2 separate regions of the Homo sapiens genome follow, and region 2 is linked to region 1. The links are contacts of gene promoters, found by promoter capture Hi-C in blood cells and fetal thymus (Javierre and others, 2016). All regions are on one chromosome and are shown on one strand. The core of a region is centred on a gene start or on the middle of the fragment in contact, and the rest is flanking DNA. Distances in the headings are between cores, read along the strand shown.

What was found. Contacts are between HindIII fragments. The CHiCAGO score rates a contact against its expected background, and 5 or more counts as called.
Region 2: a contact is called between a fragment that was not itself captured here and the fragment with the promoter of SELE in region 1, in 1 of 17 cell types (naive CD8 T cells). The highest score is 5.4, in naive CD8 T cells.

The regions. Positions count from the first base shown.
Region 1 is chr1:169,731,152-169,738,232 of GRCh38, forward strand. SELE (selectin E) reads right to left here and starts at 2,928. Exons shown (of 14, transcript NM_000450.2): 1 at 2,820-2,928; 2 at 2,425-2,509; 3 at 1,464-1,847; 4 at 684-791. The coding sequence starts at 2,461. The HindIII fragment of the contact is 3,955 bases long and covers 2,117-6,071 here.
Region 2 is chr1:168,315,524-168,322,604 of GRCh38, forward strand. No RefSeq gene overlaps it. Among named protein-coding and RNA genes, the nearest start is that of TBX19, 38 kb to the left of the region's middle. RefSeq lists an enhancer at 5,468-5,762. The HindIII fragment of the contact is 2,663 bases long and covers 1,086-3,748 here.

The DNA.
Region 1 (7,081 bases), core at 1,678-4,177:
AAATTCAGTTCCTCAGTGTCACCAGCCACATTTCAAGTACTCAATAACCACATGTGGCTCATAGGTACACACTGGAAAACACAGCTATGGAACATTTCCATTATCACAAAAGCTCTACTGCACAACGCTGTGCTAAGGAATCTTGGAGAGAAGCTCATCTAACTCTCTTAATGTACAAATTTAGGAACTGAGACCTCATTTCATTCAAGTGACTTGCTCCATGCTACACGGCTAGTCATTACAGAGCCAGAGGCCAGAGCATGAACCAAGATACCCTGGACTCTGTAACTCACTCATTTCTACTGCAACGTCTTGTTACCACCTAGATGAGGTGAGTACATGTTCCTCGCAGGGACACAGAATTACAGTTTATTGAATGTGTCCTGTGTGCCAGGCACCATGTAACCATGAGCCTATGAAGTTCACACTATTATTATCCTCATTTTACAATGAGAAAACTGACATAGAGAGTTAAACTATCTTGTCAAGGTGCCAAAATAAATAACTGGTGAATCTAGGACTCAAACCCAGCAGGGTCTGACTTCATAGTCTCAGCTCACGATCACCATATGACACCATCTGCACCAGGGAAGGGAAGGCATGCAGACCTGACTCTAATGCCAGCTAGGACGTGAGATGGTGCTACCATCTCAAGTGAAGAAAGAGGCAAGAACCAGACTTACTTTGCTCACACTTGAGTCCACTGAAGCCAGGGTCACACTTGCAAGTGTAATTATTGATGGTCTCTACACATTCACCGTGGCCACTGCAGGATGTATTGGTACAGGCAGCTACGGAAAATACAAAGCATGATGAGGAGGACTATTACTGTGCTTATACTGAGTGCCTTTGATTTTAGAATCAACAGTGTGCAACAGAGACATCAGCAGTCCTACAGAGTGCCATAGACTTTAACTGAAGTGTTTTACAAAGTTCCAAATCTGAGTTTCAGGCCCACCTATCCTAAACCTTGATGCTAATGTATAGCTGTGGCTGGCACCTACCGTAGAAAATTTACTTCTTCACAAACTCTGAAGACAGTTCCCCTACCACAAATAAACAAGTAATTAAAATATGTATTGTGTGTGTGCATTTTTATATGTAAAGAACTACATATTTGCCTACAGTATTTATATATATTTTATATATATACATACACACATATATGTGTGTATATGTGTGTATGTATATATATAAAATGTATATAAATGCTGTAGGCTATATATATATACACACACACATATATGTGTGTGTGTATATATGTGTGTGTGTGTATATATATACATATCCACATATTCTTGCCCACATTCACACAAAACAGCAAAAGAGAGAAACTTTAGCAGTTAAACAGAATCTTTTGGAACATAAAATGACCACAATAGAGAGCAGTTTTTGCATGCTGTAAATTTGCCAAGATGCCCACACACTGAAACTACCTCCCACTGCTGCCGCAAACTCCCTACCTGTGTAGCATAGGGCAAGCTTCTTCTTGCTGCACCTCTCATCATTCCACATGCCCACATCTTTTTCTCTCTTGATGTAGATCTCCACGCAGTCCTCATCTTTTTGCCTATTGTTGGGTTCACCTGGAGCCCAGTTCTTGGCTTCTTCTGTCAGAGGTTTCTGGGTTCCTACCCAGACCCACACATTGTTGACTTTTCTGATTCCAATCCAGTAATAACTTGGTGAATAGCTCAATATGGAGTTTAGGTACTCAATCTCTTCTTTGTTTTGAATTGCAACCAGGTGTGTGTACCTTTGCTGACAATAAGCACTGGCCTCATCATAAGTCATAGCTTCCGTGGAGGTGTTGTAAGACCAGGCTCCACTCTCTTTAATGAGAAGCACTAGTGGGAGAAAAAGAAAAGAAATGGTAGAGTTTGGTACTGTTGTGGTTTAACTCTGACAACTGTGCTTTTTATTGTCTTATTTTTGGCAATGTTTGTGACATGGCCCAGACTTTTCTCATCTTTTCAAAAGTAAGAAGTACGTATGAAGAAACAGCGACTTATTGTTTATCTCTTTTGTGACTGCCACCCACTAGGTACCTTATCCACACTCACTCACAACATTATAGTATACCCATTTTGTAGTAGAATAATAATCAGAATAACTAAGCTTTATTGAGCACTTAGTATGCACCAAGAAGCACTGTATGAGGTACTTTCCATGAACCATGCTATTGAATCCTCACAATGCATCTGGGAAATAGGTCATTATGATCCACACTTTACACTTAAGGAAAGGGAGACACCAAGAGGTAAAGTAAATGACCCCAAGCCCAGGGAAGAACACATTGCAGGTAGAGGTCAAGGATGCTGCCAGATATCCTGTGCAGGACAGCCCCAGACAAGCAAGGATATTTCAGTCTGAAATATCTATAGTGCGAGAATGAGAAATCTTGGTCTAATGGCACTGACTTACCCAAAGTGAGAGCTGAGAGAAACTGTGAAGCAATCATGACTTCAAGAGTTCTTTTCACCCAAAGGTTTAGGCTTGAAATACTTTCCTGGGGAGATAAAACACAAAATGAATTAAAGAAGGAAATCGTGGGTAGCTAGTTACATTATTCTACCATGATGTTTAAGGCAGCATCCTAAGATTTTGGGCAAAGGACACTAGTGCAATAATCTTTATTTCAGAGTTTAATCAAATAAATAAACAAATTTTAAGACTTTCATTATTTAGGTCAAAGAGAAAAGACAGGTTTTAGCTACAATACAATAAGAGCTTGTACAGATGTGGTTTTTATTAGAAGGCCTTTTGCATATCTGTGTTTCATGGCCCGAGGCTGCCCTTATAAAGCGTTCTGCACTTACCGTTTTGGGAAGCAGTTGTTCAAACACAGGATCTCTCAGGTGGGTATCACTGCTGCCTCTGTCTCAGGTCAGTATAGGAGTTTTGATGTGAAGTCAGCCAAGAACAGCTGAACACTACTTCGGCTGAGGCCCTTTTATAGGAGGGATTGCTTCCTGTGAATAATAGGAGGATATTGTCCACATCCAGTAAAGAGGAAATCCCCAATGGCATCCAAAAACTTTCCCGGGAATATCCACGATGCTTAAAATTACAATGATGTCAGAAACTCTGTCTCTTGAAGCTACTTCACCTTTGTCCATGCCTTTATATCGTATATGCAATTTTATTAATATGACAAAAATGCATGATTTTTAATTATAATAACATAAAGTCTATGTCTTTAAAAAGTTGTAAAACTTTGCTTGTTAGTAGTGTCTCTCATGTAGTTGTGGTAGTAATTAGAATTTCAGAAACAGAAGGAAACCAAGAATAGGTTTGTCATCCATAGTCTACTACCTTCAATTTCTCATTCATAGCTGTGGATAACCAATCACTACTCATTTTTTCTTCCTTTTTCACCTGCCAATTCAACATATTTAACATGCACTGTCTCACAGAGGAATGACTCACAAGGTAGATATTAATCTTCAGATTTTGCACGGCAGTTATGCCTAAATTAAAATATTATCTAAAAATAATATCTAACACTCAAATGGTTAAAATAATGCCTTATTTTAAAAAAAGAAAAATGGGAAATAGATATTTACATCTGGGAAAGTTTCATGGTTTGTTCAGTGAAAAAAATAAAAAGGAGGCCAGGCACAGTGGCTCACGCCTGTAATCCCACCACTTTGGGAGGCCGAGGCAGGCGGATCACCTGAGGCCGGGAGTTCAAGACCAGCCTGACCAACATGGAGAAACGCCATCTCTACTAAAAATACAAAATTAGCTGGGCATGGTGGCGCATGCCTGTAATCCCAGCTACTCGGGAGGCTGAGGCAGGAGAATCGCTTGAACCCGGGAAGTGGAGGTTGCAGTGAGCCAAGATCACGCCAGTGCACTCCAGCCTGGGAAACGAGTGAAACTCTGTCTTAAAAAAAAAAAAAAAAAAAGAAAAGAAAAGAAAAAAAATAAAACGGAAAACTATATATATATATTTAATTGGTCAAAATTTTGTTTAAAATTTTTGAAATGTTAATGTGCAAAGAATAAAAATTCTTCCACAATGTTAACAGTGACTAACTCTGGATGGCAGGATTTGGGATAATTTTTATATCCTTCATTATTATTTTCAGGATTTTAAAGTTTTTTTCAATTTCCCTTTTTTTCACCTTTATAGTAACAAGAATACAGTTTAAAGAAACTTGTCTCTAGGCCAGGCATGATGGCTCATGCCTGTAATCCCAGCACTTTGGGAGGCTGAGGTGGGTGGATCACCTGAGGTCAGGAGTTCCAGACCAGCGTGGCCAATATGGTGAAACCCTGTCTCTACTAAAAATACAAAAATTAGCCGGGGTGTAGTGGCGCATGCCTGTAATCCCAGCTACTGGGGAGCCTGATGCAAGAGAATCGCTTGAACCCAGGAGGCAGAGGTTGCAGTGAGCTGAAATCACACCATTGCACTCCAGCCTGGGCGACAGAGCAAGACTCCATCTCAAAAAAAAAGAAAAAAAGAAAAAGAAAAGAAAAGAAATTTGTTTCCAAATGCAACAGAAGGAGATGTATGTGGTATCCTATATTCCTGCTCTTCATTTTGACATTTCTTCTGGGTGATTGTATACATTCCCCATCTCTGCATCTTACCCTATCTAAATGATGGTAACAGTAAATGGGGATCATTTTAATTTCCATATTCTGTAGGTTTTCAGAGCTCAAGTCAAGCTAATATTCTATATCTACAGCCTTTCAAAATAGGAGGTCTATCTAAAAATGTACTGTCAGCAGACCTGAACGAGTAGTGGTAAAAGCCTCGTTTTTCTCTTTACTTGTTAGCACTGGTCTTTCTGTGTTCATAAAGATGTCAAGACCCAAAAAAAAAACAAGAAAAGAGAAGAAAAATTCCAAAAAAGACAACTGATTAGAAAAAAATAACTTAATTAACGAATTTAATTCAACCCCTATCAAAAAGCATAGAATTTATTCCCTCCACCTTACCACTCTCTTACATGATCCAGATACTGACATTATTCCAATTCTTTATCCCACTTTACTTAGCTCAATGTGGTTGTTGCTTCAATAAATTCAGAAGAGTAATCACTCATATAGTGTTTATTTAGATTTTAGGGCAGAATGTCAAGTTGGGTTAATACATTATCTGTATGTATTTTATTTTTAATAAAGTATGAATACATAATCTGCTATTTTTAAAAAGCATGGTCAAATGTATAGAGTAGCCAAATCTTAAAAAACAATTTATCTTCGATATCAATAAAGTACCTAATAATTATATTGCTAATAGAAATTAGTCGTTAACATCCCTAGATAACTAACTTTATTATTGCGAATTTTTCATAACTAAGTTTATAGTTTATCTCTTCCCCTTTTTAAAATTAGTTCAAAGATATCTAAAAATAGCCCCAGTGGTGATGAAGTTTCTATTTTACTTACATATATATGTCCTGGACCCCCAATTATAATCTCTAACATTTATTGAGTGCTTACTATGTGCCAGGCCATATTCTGAGCATTTTGTATGTTCACCTATTGATTATTCAATCCGTACAACAGCCTATGAAATAGGTACTCCTATTATCCCCATTTTACAGATGAGGAAATTGAGAATCTGGGGATTTTATCTCATTCAAAAGCACAGAGCTAAGGGTTGAAACCAGGCAGTTGATATCCAGAGCCCACTCCCTTACCTGCTACTCCAAACCATGATTTCTTTTGTTGTTATGCCCCGAGATTCCTTGTTCTACCCAAGTTTCCTGTACTCTTCTTGCCCTCTTCTTCCTGAGACATCCTTGACCATCACAGCTCTCCACTGAGATAACTGTGTCCTGGGTTCTGAGACATGGGGGCTGGAAGGGACCCCAGGGACAGTGAGCAGTAGGGAGAGGATGCAGTGAGAACAGACCCTGGATCCCCGGTGCATAGGCAGGGAGAAAGTGGACAAAGGAAAAAACAAGCAAGGCAGGTGGAGCCATGCCTAGGTAAAGTTGATCCCTAAGCCACAGTTCCCAGAAGTTCCTGATTCAAAAGCAAATTTTCTCTAAGGTCAAAGGGCAAACTGATTATTCTAAATTCTAAACTGATTATTTCTAAATTGAGAAAGCTTCAGGGAGAGATCCCAATATTCGAAGGATAAGAGAAATGAGGAGTGGAAGAGATAGGTGAGTAACAGTAACTTAAATGTAGACTATATATAATATATAATATATGTAGAGTATATATATATAATTACAATATATTATATATGTGGAATATATATATTATTTATATATATTTATATATTTTATATATATAGATATTTTTATATTTTATATATAAATATAGATATTTTTATATTTTATATATAAATATAGATATTTTTATATATATTATATATAAATATATGTAAAATACTGTGAAAGAAGAATAGAATCTTGAGACCTCAAATTCACTATGCCAAAGGGAAAGTTAAGCTTGGGAAATGAGTCATGCAAAAACTGCCTTCCTTTTGTTCCCAAATACCTGTAATTTCACATGCTTACTTTATCTTATATAAAATGTAGATGTACTGAGCATGAGATCCATGCATAATTTCCCTCTAGTCCCTTCTTTTTACATGTAAAGTGTAGACTCACTGAGTGTTACAGAGCCTTGCCACAATGTAAACACTTGTCTCATTGCCAACCCATCTTTCGTTTATTTTCTTCCCCTCCTGCTTGCTCTTTCCCCTCTAAAGATGGAAGTTCCCAAAACTCTCTTTGGAAAAAGCGCAGGTCACAGATCCTACAGTGATTTGTGTTTCTTTTACCTGGGACAAAATAAACCTCTAATCTGTTGAGATATGCTTCAGTTACTTTTTGGTTTACAATATGTACATGTATGTATATAATTTATATGTATATAATATATGTACTTGTTTTAACCAGAGGTATGTTATTCAAAATCCATTCATCCTTACAATTACCTGCATTCTCCCACAGTATTTTCTGTGTCCCTGCCCCCGAGGTTGTCACTGCAAATCAGGTACATGGATACTGGGAGCTGATGGGCTCCCCTCTGGCTACCTGGGCTGCTGAAGGGGCCATAGACAGACCCAGCTTTCCTCTCGTGGAGAGGCCCTGGGCCAGCGCTG
Region 2 (7,081 bases), core at 1,167-3,666, 1.4 Mb before region 1:
GGTATTAATATATTAGTATCTCTGCAAGACAGTACTTTGGTAAGTTATAACAGATGGTCATTTCTCAATCTGCTAGAACTTTAGGCTACTGTGGCCTGTAATTGCCACAGCAGGTCTGACCAAGGCCTCTTTACTGGTCACTGCAGCAAGTCTTGGCACCAAGTCCTTCACATGTCCTGTACCAAGAGCTCAGCAAGTGTAATTAGGGAATAAAAACCCACCTTGAGTCTCACCCTTCCTGCACTTCCCCTAGCCTGGAGCAGACAGAAGACCTGGCCCAGGGACACAGAACAGAAAGAAGCTCGTAGCCTCCATTATATTTTCATTTATATTGCTCAGGTGAATGGGGTCCTCTGCAGCATGATAACATGAGCATTAGCTGAGTTTGGGGTGATCACGTCTCTCCGTCTTGTAGGATACTCAGCTTGGAACCTGCTGTGATTCTTAAACACACACACCATGATAGCTGGTTCCACAAATAGGATCTCTATTTGCTGTTAGCTATCTAGCCAGAGACACTTTCTATTTTTTTCTTTAAATAGTCTAGGGCTAATTTCTGATCAGAAGAAACAACACTAGTTACATAAGTCAGTTTAGTAAGTGACAGATTAGCTTCTGTAATGTGTTAGACAAACTTTGGAGTTTTGTATACCATTTCCTTGCTCATGTATCTTCTCTACTCAACTCACTATAAAACAAAAATGGTGCCTTTCAGGTTTTCTGGACTATTTCATGAAATTTAAGAGAAACTGAAATCCCACCTGAATAGAAGAGTTATGCAATACTTTTAGCCAGATGGTAGAGATTCTAACTCTCCCTGAAGCCTGGCCTATTGGAAAGTGTCCCCTACTGTGGGGCCTTTATTTGAGTCTGTGTGACCTCACCAGCCCTCCCTTCCCTGGATGAGCCAGCCTCATTACCAACCACCTCTGTCCACCATGCTTAGCTAGATGCTTATGGGAAACTGCTGATTCCCTTCGTGTCACTTGGTGGACACCCCCCAGAACTGGATGGTGGTCAAATTAGGGGAGGAATGTTTTCATCACCTAAGTTATTAAGAAAAAAACTCAATAAAGGATATTCGAAGCTTGGTAGGTCTTCACCACTTTCTTCAAGACTAGAATAGATTTGAGTGAATATCAGCAAGTTAAAATGTCACATTTGTGAAGAATATGAATTCTGTTTTACGGAAATTGTGGGTCAGCCAAAGTAGGGGATGGCAACTGGGGCATTCAAGTGGCCCTTCTTTCAACTCCTTCCTTTTTATTTTCTCCACCCATTCCCACTTTATTGAGCCACTTGTTGGCTACTGGCCAGGTTGGTGAACAGAGAGAGTACGGGCATCCTTGAGCCACTTGTTGGCTACTGGCCAGGTTGGTGAACAGAGAGAGTACGGGCATCCTGGAACAGAGGTTAAGGTAGGGATATGTGGTGCCACAAAAGATATAAAGGAACAGCCTCTGTGGTCTGAAGACACCAAAACTTTTCCATCATCATCATTATAGACACATCTATGGGGTAGTCTGTCCAACCCCCCAACCTTCTAGGAATAGAACCCCCCCAAACTCTTGGTGAAACTACCTTTTTGGAATAAGTAATGAGAGAAATCTAACGTGACTGACTCCATCTTGCTTCTAACCTCACAGGCTAAATTTCTTTTTTTTTTTGTAGACTGAAGCTGCGTTCATAAGACAAGGCTAAAATTGTGGTAGGGCCTTGGACTTTGCTGTAGAATAGGCATAGTTAAACCATGACCTGCCATCGCTTAGTTTGTTTTTCTATAAGTTGTTTACTGCCCCAGAATCACAAAACTGGGGGTCACATGATTTATAACTCCCCCATCTACTCCTATAGCTAACATCACTATTGTGAAACCTAAAGAACTGGTCTTTGAGATATCTTTCAGATTTAGCATTGTGACAAAACAAGAGATGCCACCTGGTCCTGAGGCCCTCTTCCAGGAACTGACTCAGCCACACGAAGACAGTTTTAGGTGTCCCTGTGATTTCATCTCCAGCCAATCGTTTCAGTTCTCCAGCCCCCTTCCTGCCAAAGTACCTAGGCTACTGAAATAAAACTGGCGTCTGGGAAACCCGGAGGCCAGAGCAACTGGTCAGGCCCAGGTGAGGACTTAGAATTCAACTAGTTGGGAGTGAGAAGTTGGTCAATCTCTCATTCTCAACATGGAAACATCGGAAATTCACATTTTCTGGTCATGACCACTCTTATTTGGAGCACTTTGTAGGAGTAACTGTGTGTGTTTATGTGTGTGTGTGTGTGTGTGTGTATGCACAAGTATGTCTATTTAGTGATGAGTTCCCTGTCCCTAGAGAATAAGTCAATAAACCTTTGGGGTAGATTCACTTTGTTCTGAAAGAACACTTTTTAGGGGGTGGAGTTTGGGGAGGAGTGTTAACAAGGAGTTTTGGGTTAACCAGGGCTGGTTCTGGAGGATGGAGCTGTGGTATCCCTCCTACATACTTATTAGATGGGGAGGGCTTGGAGCTTGGAGGTTGCTGAGGAGGAATCAGACATATTTTAGGTGGGAACGTAGTAATCTCTTAGAAGGAAAGACCTTTTCTATTTGTGGTTAAAATGTAGTGAAATATATTGGATGGCTTGGGTTAGCCCAGACCAAGGTTGGGCAGCAGGAAAAGTATATTTCCTCTAAGACAAAATTATATTACCACAATGGGAGGAGTAGTTTGAATGGATGACTGGTTTCCACACAAGAGCAACTGGAGGTAAGAGATGCTCCTGGACCCAATGTGGACTTATGCAGCCACCTGGACACTGCCATGCCTTGAGAAAAATGGCTGGTGTGTGGGTTAAAAGAGTGGATCCTCAAGCGTTAACACTTGGGGCCTGGGCTAAAGTTGCTAAGTGGGATATGTTGGGGGAAAATGTCCAGGGTTGTAATGACAGGAAGTCATGAGAGATTGAGGATACTCCATGGATTTCTGTTAACTTGAGCAGGTGGGTGTTGATGGTTACTAGAGTTAGAAATTTAAATTAGAGAAATGGCTAATTGTGTTATTACAGGGTGGATGACTGTCTTGGTTATACTTGAGGACAAAAACTGTCTTCCATTGCTGTACCTCCAACACCTTGCACATGTGCCTGGTAGGTACATGGTAGGCACCCCACAGGTATTAATCCAGAATTTTTAGAAATAATCCTTAGCAGTACTTGGAAATTTTAGGTGGGGAAACATGTTTGGTTTGATAAAAAGTTCTTTGTATATTTTTGTCAAAGTTGTGTCTTTATAAGATCGTATTTCTTTAGAAAAGTTTTTTTTTGTTGTTATTTGTTTGTTTGAGACAGAGTCTTGCTCTGTTGCCTAGGCTGGAGTGCAGCGGCACGATCTTGGCTCGCTGCAACCTCTGCCTGCTGGGTTCAAGCAATTCTCCTGCCTCAGCCTCCCGAGTAGGTGGGATTACAGGCGCTCACCGTCATGCTTGGCTAATTTTTTTGTATTTTTGTAGAGATAGGGTTTCACCATGTTGGTCAGGCTGGTCTCAAACTCCTGACCTCTGGTGATCCACGCGCCTCGGCCTCCCAAATTGCTGCGATTACAGGCATGAACCGCCGGGCCCAGACAGATTATTATTTTTAATAGCTTTATTGATATATAATTTACACAGCCTATTTAAAGGGGAAATTCATTGGACTTTTCTAGTATATTTACAGAGTTGTGTGCCCATAACCATAATCTAATTTTAGAACATTTTTGTCACCCTACAAAGAAAGCTTATACCCATTAATAGTCACTGCCCACTTCCTTCCTACTCACCTCCACCCCCTCCCCTAGGCAGCCACTTATCTCCTTTCTTTCTCTATAGATTTCCCATTCTGGACACTTCATTTGGCTGGAGTCATGTGATGTATGGTCTTTTGTGACTAGCTTCTTTCACTTAGAGGATCCTTGATGCTGTGGCGTATATCAGTACTGCATTCCTTTTTCTGCCAAGTAATATTCCATTGATAAATACAGCCACATCTTTTTTATCCATTCATCAGCTGATGGGCATTTGGGATGTTTCCACTTTTTGAACATTCATGTATGAGTTTTCGTATGGGATAGATACTATCTATCATTTTCCTCGTCTTACAGATGGAGGGAGCCAGCTCAGACAGCGTAGATGGGGTTTTCAGTGTAACACAACTAGTAGGGGCAGAATTCAGACCTACCTGACGATGAAGTTTTTGTTCCCATTCACAACCCAATGTCACCCTGTACTGAGGATTGTCCCAAGCAGGAGCAGTTACGTTACTCAGCTGGCACTTCCCCTTGGTTTCCTGTTACATTTACATCAGATTCCCAGGGCTGCGGTGGCGATTAGGGAAAAGAGTCTGTGTTCACACTTGGGAGGAGGCTGGGCGTAGGGCGTGGGAAAGCGGGAGACAGGGAGATCGTGGAATGAGCAGGGCTTCATGGGCCAGGGACCATCTGGGGCCTAGTGGCAGATTGCTGGTCTTCCAAGGACTGGATAGCATCTCTAGGGCATTTCCAGAAACCTTTTGGGGCAGATTCTGGTGAAAGTCTGAATTTCCTGGAGAAGGAGAATGTGGGTAAGAGCACATTATAATTTGATTAAGAGCAATGTGATCTCAAAATCTAATGAAGCCTGGCAAATATTGATTGGTATTGAGGTGATTGATTTTAGGATAGACATTTAAAAAAGTGCACTTATTGACAACAAAACAAAAATGTGTTGTAGCCAAAGCATTCAGAAATCCAAGACTTAACTTTGCAGTTTTAAAGTTCACAAATGTGATGAAAGGGAGAAGGACTTTGTAATCTTTATAATGATTGATTAGACTTTGAATTGGGAGCCCGTATGTGTAAGTTATGCTACTGTTTGGTCAGCCTGCTGCCAAGTCAGTTACCAGCAAGATGATGCCATAAATTTCTTGCTCTGCAGAGAGGATAAGATATAGGGACCATTGATACTTTCTTGTCAGTGCCTCAGACTGAGGGGCTTCCTGGGATATAGGCATTTCAATTTAAAATTTCAATTTAAATGGAATAAACTTTCCATTAATTTCCATTTATTTCCAATAAAATTTCCATTTCAATTTAAAATGGAGACAGCCTGGATTTTCCCAGGATGAGTTGGTCAACCTGTAACATTGGACGCGTACTTGTGGAGTCCAGAATCCTGCTGTGTTGACCACATGGGGAATGAATATTTTTCTGAAAAGAGATAGGGCAGAGATGAGCAGAGAGAGTAGAAAAGCTAACAGCTGGCCTTAAATTCCTACGGTTGCACTTTTCTTAGCATCTTGTAGGTGGGTCTATTGTTTAGCACAATTATTTACAGAAGGCAAACTGTTATGTAGAGCAGCTAGAAGCATTGGTTGCAGTAAAAGCAGCTGTTTTATTTCATCGTAGACAATCCTGTTTATCTCTCCCAGCCCAATCAAATGTACCCCGCCAAATACTTGGCTATGATCTGAGACCTAGGAAAATAGCATGTGATCTCTGTCTCTCACTTTTTTTTTTGGCATGTGATTTTAAGATTTTCATCTTTAAAGTTATTGTAAAACTCAAGGCCCAGAGCATGGCCCAGAACTAGTGGGAGTTCACAAAACAGATCAAGAATCAGAGTTGGTGAGTCATGCAGGCTCACAGCACTCTGAAACACAGGGATAGGGCTTACTCATCAGTTCAGACATTAGGCGTTCCAAAGGAGGTCCTGGGGGTGTGGTGATGACATTGCCCAGGATCAATTATTTAACTGTTGTTTAAGAGGTAGGAACCTCATCAATGGGTTTACATAGGGAGGAGATAGGAAGTAGAGAAAGCAAAGCGTTCTTCCAGTGCCCTGATCTCTTTCCATGTGGGCTAGTGCCTCATAAGTCCAGAGAGGTTACACTATACGTGGGATAAGGGTAGAATAAGGGCTTGGGGAGCACTTTTTTCTTTCTTTCTTTTTCTTTTTTTTTTTTGAGGCAGCCTGGGCTCTGTCACCCAGGCAGGAGTGCAGTGGTGTGATCTCAGCTCACTGCAACCTCTGCCTCCAGGGTTCAAGTGATTCTCCTGCCTCAGCCTCCCAAGTAGCTGGGATCACAGATGTGCTCTACCATGCCCGGCTAATTTTTTGTATTTTTAGTGGAGACTAAAAATACACCATGGGGTTTCACCATGTTGGCTAGGCTGGTCTCAAACTCCTGACTTCAGGTGATACACCTGCCTTGGCCTCCCACAGTGCTGGGATTACAAGTGTGAGCCAGGCAGCACTTTCTTGAATGTTCTCAGAGTTGTACATAAACCTGAGACATCAGCAACTTCATAAGTAAGGTCTTTGGTATACGCAGAATTTTATATACACTTAGGGTAATTTTTGGGAGGTGAAGAGAAAAAGTGAGGGGAAGGGATCCATAGCTTTTATTAGATTTCCAGTGGGATCCATCATCCCCCCAAAATTAAAATCTACTGCTCTATATGTTCTTCGAATGATATGCTCAGCTCATAACTCTAAGTTTCTATGTAAGTGCTAAGAGCTTATAAATATTCTCCAGCTAGACCTCTTCTCTTGATTCTGGATTCCATGTATACTACACTACCACCTACAGGACATTTCCACTCTGTGTCCTATGGGTGCCTCAATGTCAACACACCTAAAACTCAATAATGGCTTCTCTTTCTATATTACCCATTATAGATGATGGTAGATGAATGACATCACCATTTACCCAGGTACTTAAGTCTCTTTCTTTCATTTGCCACATTTGATTAGCCACTAAGCCTGGTCTCTGCTACCTCAGAAATACTTTTCAATTTAACCCTACCACTTCCTTCTCTCAGTCTCAACTGCTACATCCCTCCTGTAGCCAGAAATGAAAATCACAGTAATAAGCCTTGCACCCCAACTGAGAAAATACTTTAAGTCACAATAGCCTAAAGTTCTAGCAGATTGAGAAATGACCACCTCTTATAACTTACCAAAGTACTGTCTTGCAGAGATACTAATATATAATACCTTAAAATACCTTAGACAGCTGTTCACTTATGTCTAACAAAATAAGTTAGAATTTATTTTGAAATATAGGTGAATCTTTTGTGTATCCAAAGACC